3 separate regions of the Homo sapiens genome follow, and regions 1 and 3 are each linked to region 2. The links are contacts of gene promoters, found by promoter capture Hi-C in human tissues and cell types (Jung and others, 2019). All regions are on one chromosome and are shown on one strand. Each heading gives the region's core, a stretch centred on a gene start or on the middle of the fragment in contact. The rest is flanking DNA. Distances are from core to core; before and after follow the strand shown. Region 1 has its middle 6.8 kb from the start of TEKT1. Region 2 holds the start of SLC13A5 (solute carrier family 13 member 5). Region 3 overlaps TEKT1 (tektin 1).

The links. Contacts are between HindIII fragments. The study calls those that stand out against the background at their distance.
Region 1: a contact is called between a fragment that was not itself captured here and the fragment with the promoter of SLC13A5 in region 2, in 2 of the 25 tissues and cell types used here (adrenal gland and mesendoderm cells).
Region 3: a fragment that was not itself captured here is called in contact with the fragment with the promoter of SLC13A5 in region 2 in 5 of the 25 tissues and cell types used here (H1 embryonic stem cells, bladder, liver and 2 more).

The regions. Positions count from the first base shown.
Region 1 is chr17:6,836,130-6,840,987 of GRCh38, reverse strand. No RefSeq gene overlaps it. Among named protein-coding and RNA genes, the nearest start is that of TEKT1, 6.8 kb to the right of the region's middle. The HindIII fragment of the contact is 4,207 bases long and covers 819-4,858 here.
Region 2 is chr17:6,711,244-6,715,474 of GRCh38, reverse strand. SLC13A5 (solute carrier family 13 member 5) reads left to right here and starts at 2,106. Exons shown (of 12, transcript NM_177550.5): 1 at 2,106-2,243. The coding sequence starts at 2,142. The HindIII fragment of the contact is 16,548 bases long and covers 1-4,231 here.
Region 3 is chr17:6,816,922-6,821,282 of GRCh38, reverse strand. TEKT1 (tektin 1) reads left to right here. Exons shown (of 8, transcript NM_053285.2): 3 at 1,925-2,090. Among named protein-coding and RNA genes, the nearest start is that of TEKT1, 13 kb to the left of the region's middle. The HindIII fragment of the contact is 6,754 bases long and covers 1-4,361 here.

The DNA.
Region 1 (4,858 bases), core at 1,673-4,172, 120 kb before region 2:
AGACAACTGCAATGTGCAAACATACTCTGCCATAGCATAGAATTGTTCTTTGTAACAAAGTTTGTTCAACACAAACTTTATATGAAAAATAATGCCCTTCAAGAAAAAAAAAACTCTCAAAATATACTTTTCTTGGAAGCTTCTGGTATTTGTATGGGAAATGAAATCCAGTTTAACCATATATATATATGTATATTTTTTTTGCTTGTGAATTTTAAAAAAGATTACTGAGTGCCTATTTTGTTACAGGCACTCTTCTCAGTATTGGCTTAGCACCATCTTTAAAGCAATTTTCAGTGAATATAATATATATTGATTATATATTATACACTTCCTTATTGACTAATATAAGATAGAATAGTTAATTTCAAAAAAAAAAAAAGTTTTTTCCTGGGCATCATTTTAACAGAAGTTCTGCTTCCTTTTCTTTCATGCATAGAAAATGTGTTTTCTCCTAATGCAGAGGAGTGGGGATGCTTTTTCTGCCCCTGAGTGGCCAGGAGAGAACTGCTTTCTCTTTGTCTATGAACTCAAGGGCCAACATTATTCTAGCAACAGTAGGACAGGTGGCAAAAGTGTTCTGGTGTCCTAGTTGTCGCCATTAGAAAGTTCAGGCAACTAGAAAGTTCCCTGAGGTCATGCCCTGCAAGTTATATACCTTACATAATGAGGCACTGGAGAGAGAGCCCAAAAATTCCCAATTAAAAATAGGCAAGCTAGGTGAGGTGGCTCATGCATGGAATCCCAGCACTTTGGGAGGCTAAGGCAGGAGGATCACTTGAACCCAGGATTTCAAGACCAGGCTGGGCAACATAGTGGAACACTGTCCCTATAAAAAATTTAAAAATTAGCAAGATGTGGTGTCATGTGCCTGTGGTCCCAGCTACTCAAGAGGCTGAGGTGGGAGAATTGCTTGAGCCAGGAGGTCAAGGCTGCAGTGAGCCATGTTTTCACTGCTGCGCTCAGCCTAGGCAACAGAGGAAGACTCTGTCTCAATTAAAAATATATGTGCAAAAGTCAGTGTGTTTTGATGTCTTTCTTCAAATCACTTAGCAGAATTCCTGCTGTTTTCATTTACATTAGATGCTTGAGACAGTTTTCAAGTGAAATATTATTTTTAAAGTCCAAAATCCCAAATTGCTTTCAAGGTGAATAAAAGGATTTTAAAAGATTGTAACAATTTTATTTCTGTGATGATCACTGAATCTAAATTCTTCATTCTCTAGACAGGGAATCCATCTAAGAATTAAATGGAAGGGAAAAAATATATATTTTTAGTCTGTGATTAGGGGAAATAGCTCATGAGATAAGAACTGGATATAAATGGAAATATGTTCAGGAGGAATGAAAAATAGGAAATTTCATCAGAGAAATAGAAACTACCAAAACACAACCAAATGGTTGCATTCTAGAACTAAAAACATATGATATCTAAAATATTAAATTCACTGGATGGGCTTATAGCAGGATGAAAACGACCAAAAGAAGTCAGCAAGCTTGAAGACAGAAACATAGAACTTATCCAATTTGAAGAACACATAGAACAAAGATTAGAAAAAAAATAATGAGACATATCTTTGGACAAAATGAATGCCTTTTGGAGGGAAAAAGGAGCCAGAGGAATAGGAATGGGAAGGAGATTTACTTCTCACTGTATTCCCTTTTATATTTAAAATTTTAATTCTCAGTGTGTATTACTGATTTAACAGGAAATAGATACATATTGAATTTTTATGCCCTAGCCCTACCTTCAATGACTGAGTGAGCAGGTCTAAGAAGAACTTTATAAGAAGGTTTTTGTTTGCTATTGATATGAACTGCTAGTTAGGAACTACAATCCTGTGATATACGCTGTTTTTATCACTTATTTGTTATAATATGCTGCCTTGTAAATAAATATCCCTGAGTATGTTAAGACACCAAGAACCTTAAAGAGAAAGGAAGGACAGAAAATACGTATTGAGCATCTGTTGCAATTTGCCTACTGATATGGTTAGTATCAATATGGTGGAGGTAATTGAATCTTGGGGATCGTTTCCCCATGTTGTTCTGATAGTGATTGTGAGTGATAGCGAGTGAGTTCTCACAAGATCTGATTTTTTTTTTTTTGTTTTTGAGACGGAGTCTTGCTCTGTCACCCAGGCTGGAGTGCGGTGGTGCAATCTCGGCTCACTGCAACCTCCACCTCCCAGGTTCAAGTGATTCTCCTACTTCAGCCTCCTGAGTAGCTGGGATTACAGGTGTCTACCACTATGCCCGGCTAATTTTTGTATTTTTAGTAGAGACGGTGTTTCACCATGTTGGTCAGCCTGGTCTCAAACTCCTGACCTCAGGTGATCCACCCGCCTTGGCCTCCCAAAGTGCTGGGATTACAGGCGTGAGCCACCGTGCTCGGCCAAGATCTGATGGTTTTATTAGAGGCTCTTCCTTCTCTCTGCACTTCTTCTTCCTGCTGCCTTGTGAAGGTGTCTAGCTTCCTTCTTGCCTTCTGCCATGGCTGTAAGTTTCCTGAGGCCTCCCTAGCCATGCTGAACCGTGAGTCGATTAAACCTCTTTCCTTCGTAAATTACCCAGTCTCGGGCAGTTCTTTATAGCAGTATGAAACTGGACTAATACACATACATGATTTCATTTAATCTTTATAGTGCCCTATGTGGTAGATATTGTGTTCATTTGTCACAGATGAGGAAACTGAGATGCAGAGAGACAAGCAGTTTGCCCAACATCACACAGCTGGGGCTGGGCATAGTTGTTCATACCTGTAATCCTAGCACTTTGGGAGACTGAAGCCAGAGGATCGCTTGAGACCAGGAGTTTGACACCAGTGTGGACAACATAGGAGACTGTGACTCTACAAAAAAAAGAAAGAAAGAAAAGAAAGAAAGAGCCAGGCATGGTGGCAGGTGGCCATGTGCCTGTAGTCCCAGCTACTCAAGAGGCAGAGGTGGGAAGATCACTTGAGCCCAGGAGTTGGAGGCTGCAGTGAGCCACGATTGCTGCCACTGCATTCAGCCTGGGCAACAACAGAGCAAGACCCTGGCAAATAAATAAATAAAACTAAACATCCCCCAAACAAATGGACAAACAAACAAAAAACAAGGGAAACAAATCCTGCAAGTAGTATAAGCCTGAACTGGACTTGAACTTGGGTCTGATACCAGAGGCTGATCCCATGCTACCTACCCCAAAGCACCTAGCACTGTGAGATGCAGGGAGCAGAGCTTAAGAAGGGACTTGTTAAATGATGGATAAATAATGCAAACACTTTCTGATATATAGGCACTCAACTACTATTATTCAGGAAAACTACGAAATTTCTATTCATTATTCTGCCTGAATTACTTCTGGGGCCTCACTGCAAGAAGAAACAATGGTTAGGAACTGGAATTAATCCAAATGTAGGTTATGTAATGGCTTTACCAAAGCACCGATTTGATTTCGGCTTTCTTTACAGCAAATGACCAAATGTAGTGACTCTTTTAACTGGCTAGTCCTGACCCGGTTCATAGCCTATCACTGTAACTGAAATATTCTAGCCCTTTGTCTTATTTGTTATAAGACTTTCTATCTTGTTCCTACTTATCAATACTGGTCTAGAACTAATTTTAATAATAATAAAATAAAATTCAATTATTATTTTTGCAAAGGTAGTACATACATGTGTATGGTTCAAAGTGTAAAAGACACAAAAGGGTATTCAGTGAAAAGTCTCCTTCTACCACTCTCCCTGGACACCTAGTTTGCTTCACAGTCAGCCAAGGTCACCAGTTTCTTGTGTATCCTTCCAGAAATATTTATGCATTTACAAGCAAATATGTATATATGTTTTCTTCCTCCCCTCTTATTTATAGAAATATTTTTGAGGACAAAATAGATAATATCAACCTTTCTGCTTCAGCTACTCAGGAGGCTGAGGCAGGAGGATCACATTGATTTTTTATTGTTTTTCACTGAAAATTATCCTTTAGAGGTCATTTCGTTTGGCTACAAAAGGTCCTTCCTCATTCTTTTGTAGCTTCATGGTTTCCAATGGTAAGGATGTGCCATAATTTGTTTAGCAAGACACCTACTGATGGGCATGTAAGTTGCTTCTAGTCTTTTCCTATTACCAGCGATGCTGAAATGAATAACATTGTGCATGCAGGTGTCATTTTAAAGCCATCTCACCATTTCTTTCTTGCTTACTTTTGATTATATTTGGTCTTGTTTTTGGAGTACTTGGTAAAACCCTGAATATGTTCAACATTTGGTTTGGTTGCCTACAAAGCAGCCAAGAGCAAGCCTTCTAAGCCTGAACGAGTAGATACATATTCCCTGAGTGTCTCCAAAGCAAAAACCTTAGACCCTGAAAACAAAATAGTTTCATAAAAGTTACTCCAGTAATTTTTTGAGATGAGGCACTGCTCATCATCCTCAAATTCAAATTGCCAAAGCAGTCAAGATCCTGTTGTGATTCAAGAGCCCAGACTTCCAGACGTAGGAGACAGCCTGGAAACAAGGCTTCTGCTCAGGACCTTGTTGGCTGGGTGAAGAAGCTTACAGGAGAGCCCGTGGAGGCAGATGGGGTGCTCAAAGGATCACCCACATGGCTGGTTTTTCTTTAAGGAGAACCATACAGCAAGTGATGAAGGGCAGGAAATGGCCACTTTGCTCAAACTCCTGGAGGCAAATAGGAACAAGACTTAAGAAAGGTCTAGTCAAGCCTCCAACGTTACACATTGAAAAGATCATTATGCACTACCTTGAAAAGGACTAACCTGTCTCTTAGGAGCGTGTGAGTCAATATAGTGCTCCGACAATGGGTATAGTGGTTAGCATTGCAGGCTCTAGGGTCAGGTAATTAAAATCCGCCCCCTCC
Region 2 (4,231 bases), core at 857-3,356:
GCACATGTATCCCAGAACTTAAAGTAAAATTAAAAAAAAAGAAAAGAAAAAAGAACTGAAGTTGTTTACTTGCTCTCATTCATGCATCCCGGAGAAAAAGGTTTGAGTGCACATCCTGGATTAGGCACTGAGAAAGGCACTAGCTGGACAGGTGGTGATGAATAAAACAGACAGTAAATAGAAATTACATCATAATAATGTGTCATATATTTTAAAATAGCTACAAGATATTTTAAATGTTCTCACCACAAAGAAATGACAAATATTTGGGCCAGACGCGGTGGCTCACGCCTGTAATCCCAGCACTTTGGGAGACCGAGGTGGGCGGATCACCTGAGGTCAGGAGTTCGAGACCAGCCTGGCTAACATGGTGAAACCCCATTTCTACTAAAAATGCAAAAAATTAGCCGGGCGTGGTGGTGCACACCTGTAATCCCAGCTACTTGGGAGGCTGAAGCAGGAGATTTGCTTGAACCTAGGTGGCAGAGGTTGCAGTGAGCCGAGATCGTGCCACTGCACTCCAGCCTGGGTGACAGGAGCACAACTCTGTCTCAAACAAACAAACAAAAAACAAAAACAAGAGAAATGATAAATATTCGAGTGATAAATATGCTCATTAGCCTGATTTGAACACACCACAATTATACACACATTGAAAAATCACATGGTACCCCGTAAATATAGACAATGATTTGTCAATTAAAAATGAAATAACACTTAAAAAATAAAAAAGTAAAAAGTAAAAATTACACCAATAAATATAAGAGGTACAAATTGTGCTAAGTGCCCTGGGGACACAGGAAAGGCGGGAAAACCCAGGGCTATATGCATGAGAGTTACAAAGGGAAAAGGACAGGAGGGAGGCAATTGCAGGAGGGGCTTGGGAGAATGCATGTCCTTGGGTGCAGGTCACAGGAAGGAACTCATGAGCTTGATTCAGGATGTGTTGAATTTTCGGGCCGAGACACGTCCAGTCTGCGGAAGGCTGGACATCTGGGACTCTGGCATCATGGCTGGGTTGAAGGCAGAGGATGGTAATCACTAAGGAGCCGGCTGTGGTTAGGCCACCAGCATGGATGAGACTCCCCAAAAGGAAGCTGCAGAATGAGAGGCAGGCAGAGGAGAGGAAAGAAGAAAATCACAGAGGTGGGGATGTCTTTGCATCCGTGTGTCTCCAGTGCCCAAAACAGGGCCTCGCGGAGAAGAGGTGCTCGGCACCTGTCTGTTGCCTGGCGGGCTGAATGAATACATGGGCGACTGTCTCAGTGTCGCCTTAGTTGTGTCCCTTCCTCTCTAGAGCTCCGTTTCCCTCTGACCTGGGTCGGGCGGGCAGCTGCGGCTGCTGAGGCTCGGTGGGGCCCCTCCAAGACGCGTGTCCGCATCTGCCCGCCGGGCGTCTGCGGGGTGCAGCGTCCACTGGAGCGCGACAGCCCCTGGGACAGAGGAGGACAGTGGCCTCGCTTCCCTGTGCGATCGCCCAGGAGCTCCGGGCCGGAGAGTGCGAGCGGGGAAAAGGGGTCCTGCACCTAGAGTGGGGCGGACGTGGCGAGGAAGCCAGGGGGGACCGGGAAGCGAGGCCCGCGGTGCGGAGGGCGCGGGGCGTGGGGGGACACCTCTCGGAGAGACACCGGAGGGGCGGAAGTAAGGAGATGGAAAGGAGAGGGAGATCGGGGAGATAGACCTGAGAGACCCAGAGGCCTGCAGAGAGTTTCATCCGGGACCCTTCAGAGCCCAGGAAAGAGCAGATGCGGACGCGGGAGGGCGCCTTACGCCAAAGCGGGCAGCACCAGTGACCAAAACACGCCCCGCTTGGCAGCCCCGGGACGCACCTCTGCCTCGGCAGCGCAGGAGAGGCTTGGACAGCGCGAGATGCTAGGGCCCAGGCTGCCCCTAGAGGGCTGGCCCGAAGCGTTGGAGTCCAAAGACGCCTCCCACCGCCGCCGGGTGGCAGAATTGGGGGCAGGCGCGTCCCACAGACCCCGAGGGGTGGCCCCGCCCCAGGGCCGCGGGGAGGCGCCCCCGTGCGGGGCGGAGTTGTCACCGCCCCCTCCCCAATCCCCGGGGACTGTGGCCCCTTCTTAAGCCCGCGGCGCCTCTAGCTGCCCCTCACTCGTCTCGCCCGCCAGTCTCCCTCCCGCGCGATGGCCTCGGCGCTGAGCTATGTCTCCAAGTTCAAGTCCTTCGTGATCTTGTTCGTCACCCCGCTCCTGCTGCTGCCACTCGTCATTCTGATGCCCGCCAAGGTCAGTTGCATCTCCAGGCAGCCCTTCGGACACCCGGCGTCCTGTGCCCACTAACGGGCACCGATCCCGGGAGCCCTGAGCTGGAGCGCACGGATTTCGCGGGGAGCACAGCTCTCCCGGGGCGCGCGCACTCAGGAGCTCCAGGTGCCGGATGGGAGGTGCCCTGTAAAGAATCTGAGGGGCATGGCGACCCCAGGGCGCACCACCCTTGGGGTTTACAGATCCCAGGGCGCAAGAGCCGTCCAGGCAAGCACGGAAACCTCGAAGTGAGCACAGATCTCAGCCACACAGATCCCAGCCTTAGGCTCAGCCCCTGGCTCCGAATCGAATCTCCCACAGTGCATAACCCTGTTTCCCCCCAAAATGCCACCTGCGCCAACAGGGAACCTGGGAGCTTGCCTTTCCCTCTCTCTCTCCTGTCTTTTCCCTTCGCCAAAGAAGACTTCAAGCTGTAGGTGGCTTCTGCCGTCAGGAGGGACCTACAGGAAAAAAATCATCACCCACGTGGATCCTGCGCTGTCTTTGCCACTCTCTGGCCCTTCCTTGGGCCTTAGTGTCTCTATCTATGATCCACATTCCTTCCAACCTGGAGAGCCACATCTGATTCATAATCCTGCTCCAGGCTGCAGGCAGGTTGGGGTTGGCCTGCTTTGCCTCCTGCCTGCTGGGGCTGTAGCAGGAGGCGGGACACATTCCCAGAGCTCGCGCCTTGGGTGGCAGGACCTGGAGTTGCAGGGAAGCTTCCTCCCAGGCCCTAGTCTCCTAATGCTTCTGTGAGGGAGAGAGAGAATGAATGGCCTTGGCCGCAGGGTGGGCGCAGGCTCCACTGGGCTGTGCACAGCCAGTTTGGCGGAGGCCCAAGCCCTTTGAAGCCTTTTGTGGCTGCTGGCTGCTCCTTCCTCGTTCCTTCTTTCAGCCCTTTCACTCTCAGCCCAGACAGGAAACCTCCAGCTCCCCACCTCCCCTCCCCAGGCAGGTTTGGGAAACAGAGGAGCTCTTCAGGGGATGCTCTGGGGGGGAGCTCTAGAGGAAGGGAGTGCACTGGGGTGTCAGGAAGCCAACCTGCAAGAGAACTGGACTTCCACCATTCTGTCATCTGTGTGACTTTAGCCAAGTGCCTGTGCTCTCTGGGCCTTGGTGTTCTCATCTGTACAATGGGGCTAGGTGGTTTGGTTCTGACACTTTAAGGCTTTGGGAATCAAAAGGGATTAACGTTAGTTCCTAGGATGGGGGAGGGGGAGACTGGGAGGAGCCCTTGGGTGGGCCTAGCACAGGCCCTGGATGGGTCAAGGACAGCAGATCCAACTGTGGAGGCTGTGCAGTTGCCACACCAACTGTGGGCAGCCACACTTCCTCTGTAGCAAGAAGTCTGGGGTTGTTATTGTCCAGGGGAAGTAGCCAGGCAGGAGAGCTGCGATTTCAGCTCTGCTGGTAGGGAGTGATGTTCCCTGGAATGATTATAGTAGCTTGGCTGACCTTCCTGCCACAGGAGACCCCACTCACACACACACACATACACACTCTCTCTCTCACACACACACACTCACAAACACACACAGACACACACACAAACACACAGACACACACAAAACACACGCACAAACACAAACACACACAAAAACACACGCACAAACACACACCCAAACACACAAACACAGACACACAAACACACACACAAACACACACACAAAACACACAAAAAACACAAACACACACATACACATACACACACACACACACACACACCCTGAACTGGAAACCCTAACTCAGTGTGTGTGTATGTGTGTGTATGTGTGTGTGTGTAAGAGAGAGAGAGAGAGAGATTAAGCTGTCCTTTGAGTGAGGACCAGGGAGGGGAAGAAGAGAACCCAGGGAGAGTCCTTCCAAAGGCTGCCTTCACGAGCTTTCCTTCTGGCGGGGTTGGGTGAGGACCCTGGACCTTGTCTTCTTGTTTTTTCCCTTTCTGCCTGTTTTGGTCACCCTGCCCC
Region 3 (4,361 bases), core at 1,304-3,803, 110 kb before region 2:
CAATGATCCAATTATCTCCCACCAAGTCCTTCCCTCAACAGGTGAGGATAACAGCTGGAGATGAGATTTGGGTGGGGACACAGAGCCAAACCATATCAAAGGGTATATCTGGCATGTGACACAACAATTAAATAAGTTTGACACCAGTGTGAAATTTCAGGACCCTAGGAAAATAGATTACTAAAATTTTTCAGAGTGGAAAAAACAGGTCATATACAAAGAATCAGGAATCAGAGTGGCATCAGACTTTTCAACAGAAACTCTGGAAATTAGAAGGAAATGGAGGGACACAATCACAATTCCAAATAAAAAAGAGTTACAAACTGTAACTCAGGGCACAGCCAAATAGAATGAAATGTCGAGGGTAGAATAAAGACATTTGCAGACTTGCAGGTTTTCAAAAACTTTACCTCACATGCATCCATTTCTTAGGAAGTTACTGAAGGATATGCTTCAGCATACTGAAAGAGTAAATCAAGGAAGAGGAAGAAATACAATCCAGGAAACGGGACAGCAACAGGAGAAGAGTGAAGGGGATTCCTGGAAGCAAAGTCATAGGATGACAGCTACACAGCAAACTAGAGAGCAACTCATCCAGCAGGAGGAGAAGATGCTCTAGGAGAGACATCTCCAAGGAGGAAAGAAAATTGATAGCTTACTTGATGGGTTGGAATATATTGAGGGCATATTGAGAAAAAATTAATAATATAAAGAAACTGAAGGAATCACTATGCTACCCATTTTACTATCTCATAATGTCATGTTGTAAACCTCAAATATATACAATAACATTTTTTTTTAAAACAGAGTCAGCTTACAGAAGTGGAAACTGACACTACAACCAGTACATTATGACTTTAAGATTCAAATGCTGAACTACTCATTATCAATTAAATATATATATATTTAATTGTTTTCCTAGTATAATCAGTCATTTTTTACTCATGGTGACTAATAAATCTGCCTTTAATTATCATTTAAAAAAGAAAGTGAAGCAAAAATGCCATTTTAACTCCTCCCCAAAACAGAAAATTTTGTAAGAAAAGAAATTTATTACAGTGTATGATAGGGCTCAGGTGTAAATAACATTTATATATTTACAAAATGTAAATAAATAGTAAGTTTACTTATTTATTGTTTAACAAAATGGTGATACAACTATATTGGGAGACGGAAGTATGTTGTGTGAGTTGGTTAAGAGCAAATCATTATCTTTCATCACAGGAAATCAACATATAATATCAAAACTGATAATGAGTGAATAGCAGTATAAGCAAATGTCAGAAGTGATAAGGGGCCTGGCGCAGTGGCTGACACCTGTAATCCCAGCACTTTGGGAGGCCGAGGCAGGCGGATCACGAGGTCAGGAGATCGAGACCATCCTGGCTAACATGGTGAAACCCAGTCTCTACTAAAAAATACAAAAAATTAGCCGGGTGTGGTGGCGGATGCCTGTAGTCACAGCTACTCGGGAGGTTGAGACAGGAGAATGGCATGAACCTGGGAGGCAGAGCTTGCAGTGAGCAGAGATTGCACCACTGCACTCCAGCCTGGGTGACACAGTGAGACTCCGTCTCAAATGGATGGGGACAGGTCAGAGAGTTTTAATTCTTTGTGATACTATTTGACTTTTCTAACAACACACATTTATATCTTTGATAAAATTAAAAGTTATTAAAAACAGTGGGCACTGAAGAACTAGTGGGTGTAGAATGATAAATCTGATGTGGACTGTAAGAAAATATATCTTCCTTCCTTCCTGCAAATAAACATTTAAAAAGATGAAAAGATGCCCCAAATAGCACAGCACTAAGAGGAAAAGAGCATGTCACAGGTGGTTTTACAACAGTCTTCAAGTTTCTAATTCAAATGTTGGCTACCTTGGGATAGATTAGCCCTGGTGTAACTTCCCCGTGTGCTTCAGAACAGAGACTCGAGGAAGTCCAGTTCTGGAAGAAGGAGTTAGATGACAAACTTGAGCAGCTTGTGAATGTAACTGATGATCTACTCATATATAAGATCAGATTGGAAAAAGCCCTGGAGACCTTGAAAGAGCCCTTGCACATCACTGAGACATGCCTGGCATACAGGTAGGAGCGAAGGTCCCTCAAATGATTCATGTGTTGTGACAAATGAGATGCTGGGTAGTAAATGCCGGCTGTGTGCGATGGTGAGTTAGAACACAGCACTTGAGCAGGTGTTCTTTTAGAGCCTGAAGTTATCCCAGCATGCCCCTGGTGCTGGGCAGTGCAAGGGGCACTGGACTTGGTTCATGCCTCAACTCTGCTCTTGACTAACTCAACTCAAATATGTTAGGACTAGGTTTGGCTGTGGGTAGCAGAAAACTTTAAAATAATATTGAATTTAAAGAAAACGATTTCTTTCTCTCTTACATTCAAAGAGTCTAGAGATAGTCAGTCCAGGGTTGGAATGGTGGGCCACAGTTTTAGGGTTCCAGGCTTTTTCTATCTTCTTGTTCTACTGCACATGGCTTTCACTCCTAATGTTACCTTGTGGTTTAAGTTGGCAGCTGGAGCTCCAGCCATTATGTCTACATTCCAGCAAGTAGGAGTAAGTGGGGTCTGGCATTCATCATTTCTATTTGCATCCTATTGACAGAACTTAATCACATGGCCACACCAACAGATGCTGGGAAATGATTGGTTTTACTTTGGGCAGCCAGGTGCTCAGCCAAAAAACCAGGGGTTCTGTTGCCAAGGAAGAAGGTGAGAACAGACACTACAGCTCCCAGGGGACAGTATGTCTCTCCCATGCAGAGCCACACGGAAGCACTTTGTAATCCAGACAGCACTATAGGAACATAGTGCTTTTTATTATTATTTCCCTCCTATAAATCCAGTGAATAGAATGATCCTTTCTACTCTGGGGTGATGCTGGTTTCCAGACCTGGGTTCTGCCGCAGACCTAGCTGGAGTGCCCTAACAGGTCTTCTTGCTGTTAGCATAGTCCCCTATAATCTAGTGCACCCTGCACACTGGCTGTTGAGTGAACTTTTCCAAATGCAGATTTTTCCCGGTCACCGCCATGCTTAGAATCCTTCAAACCCCAATGGCTTCAAGATAAATTTTAAGCTTCTTAGCTTAGCAAACCAAGGTTCATCATGATAGGGCCCCCAGTGACCTCTCTGGATCCATATCTTGTCCCCAGTAGTGGGATGTGCTTAGGTGTGTGGAGCTACTTGCAGTTTCTCAAATGCACCATGCCCCTGTCTTCCTGGAAAGCCCTGTTCCTTCCATAAGCTTAAACAGGACCCGTTGCAGGAACCAGGCAGCAGTCTCCCCAGCCAGATTTAGAAATCTATGAAGCAAAGAGAAATAGCAGCTCATCAAAGAGCTCAACACCCAGTTGGCTCAAGTCTAAGCCTGAGGATAATGATAACGTAGAGGCTGCTAAGTTTACTGAGCATGTACTATGTGCCAGGTACTGTAGCTTATGCTTTTATAGCTCATTTGTAGTGTGCCACAATCCTATGAAGTACTAATAATTACCCCCATTTTACAGAAAAGGAAACCAAGGCACAGGTAGGTTATATAGTGGCTAAGGGCACCCAGCTAGTGAGTAGGGGAACCTCCTTTCCAAGCACTATCATGCAGGTTGAAAAAGAGCAAAACGTTGTGTAGCAGGGTCAGTTTGGGAGGAGGATGGCATCTTGGCTAGAAGCACATGTGGCACACAGTTCTGTGACACTGGGTAGATCACTTAGTCTCTCTGAAACTCAGTTTCCCCATCTGTACTTGAAAGGGCTAAGAAAGAATGTTTATATATTAATAAAGCTCAGCACAATGCCTGTCATGGAGTAAGTGCTCACTGGCAGAGGCAATATTACTATTGGTGTTATTATTATTAATAGTTATTATTACTATAAACATCTTTTAAAATTTTTTTTGAGATGGAGTTTCGCTCTTGTTGCCCAGGCTGGAGTGGAATGGTGCAATCTCGGCCCACCGAAACCTCCACCTCCCGGGTTCAAATGATTCTCCTGCCTCAGCCTCCTGAGTAGCTAGGATTACAGGCATGCACCACCACTCTTGGCTAATTTTGTGTTTTTAGTAGAGACGGGGTTTCTCCATGTTGGCCAGGCTGGTCTCCAACTCCCGACCTCAGGCGATCCACCTGCCTCAGCCTCCCAAAATGCTGGGATTACAGGCGTGAGTCACTGCGCCCACCCTAAAACATCTTTCTATGTTCAATTGTTTGTCTAAACACTGAATGAGGATCAAGGAAGGAAACAAGTCTTTGAATTTATTATTATTATTTAAAACTTTCCTCTTCTTGGGAAAAAAAGTCCATCTGGCTGCAAATCAAAACCACAATGAGATACCATCTCATGCTAGTTAGAA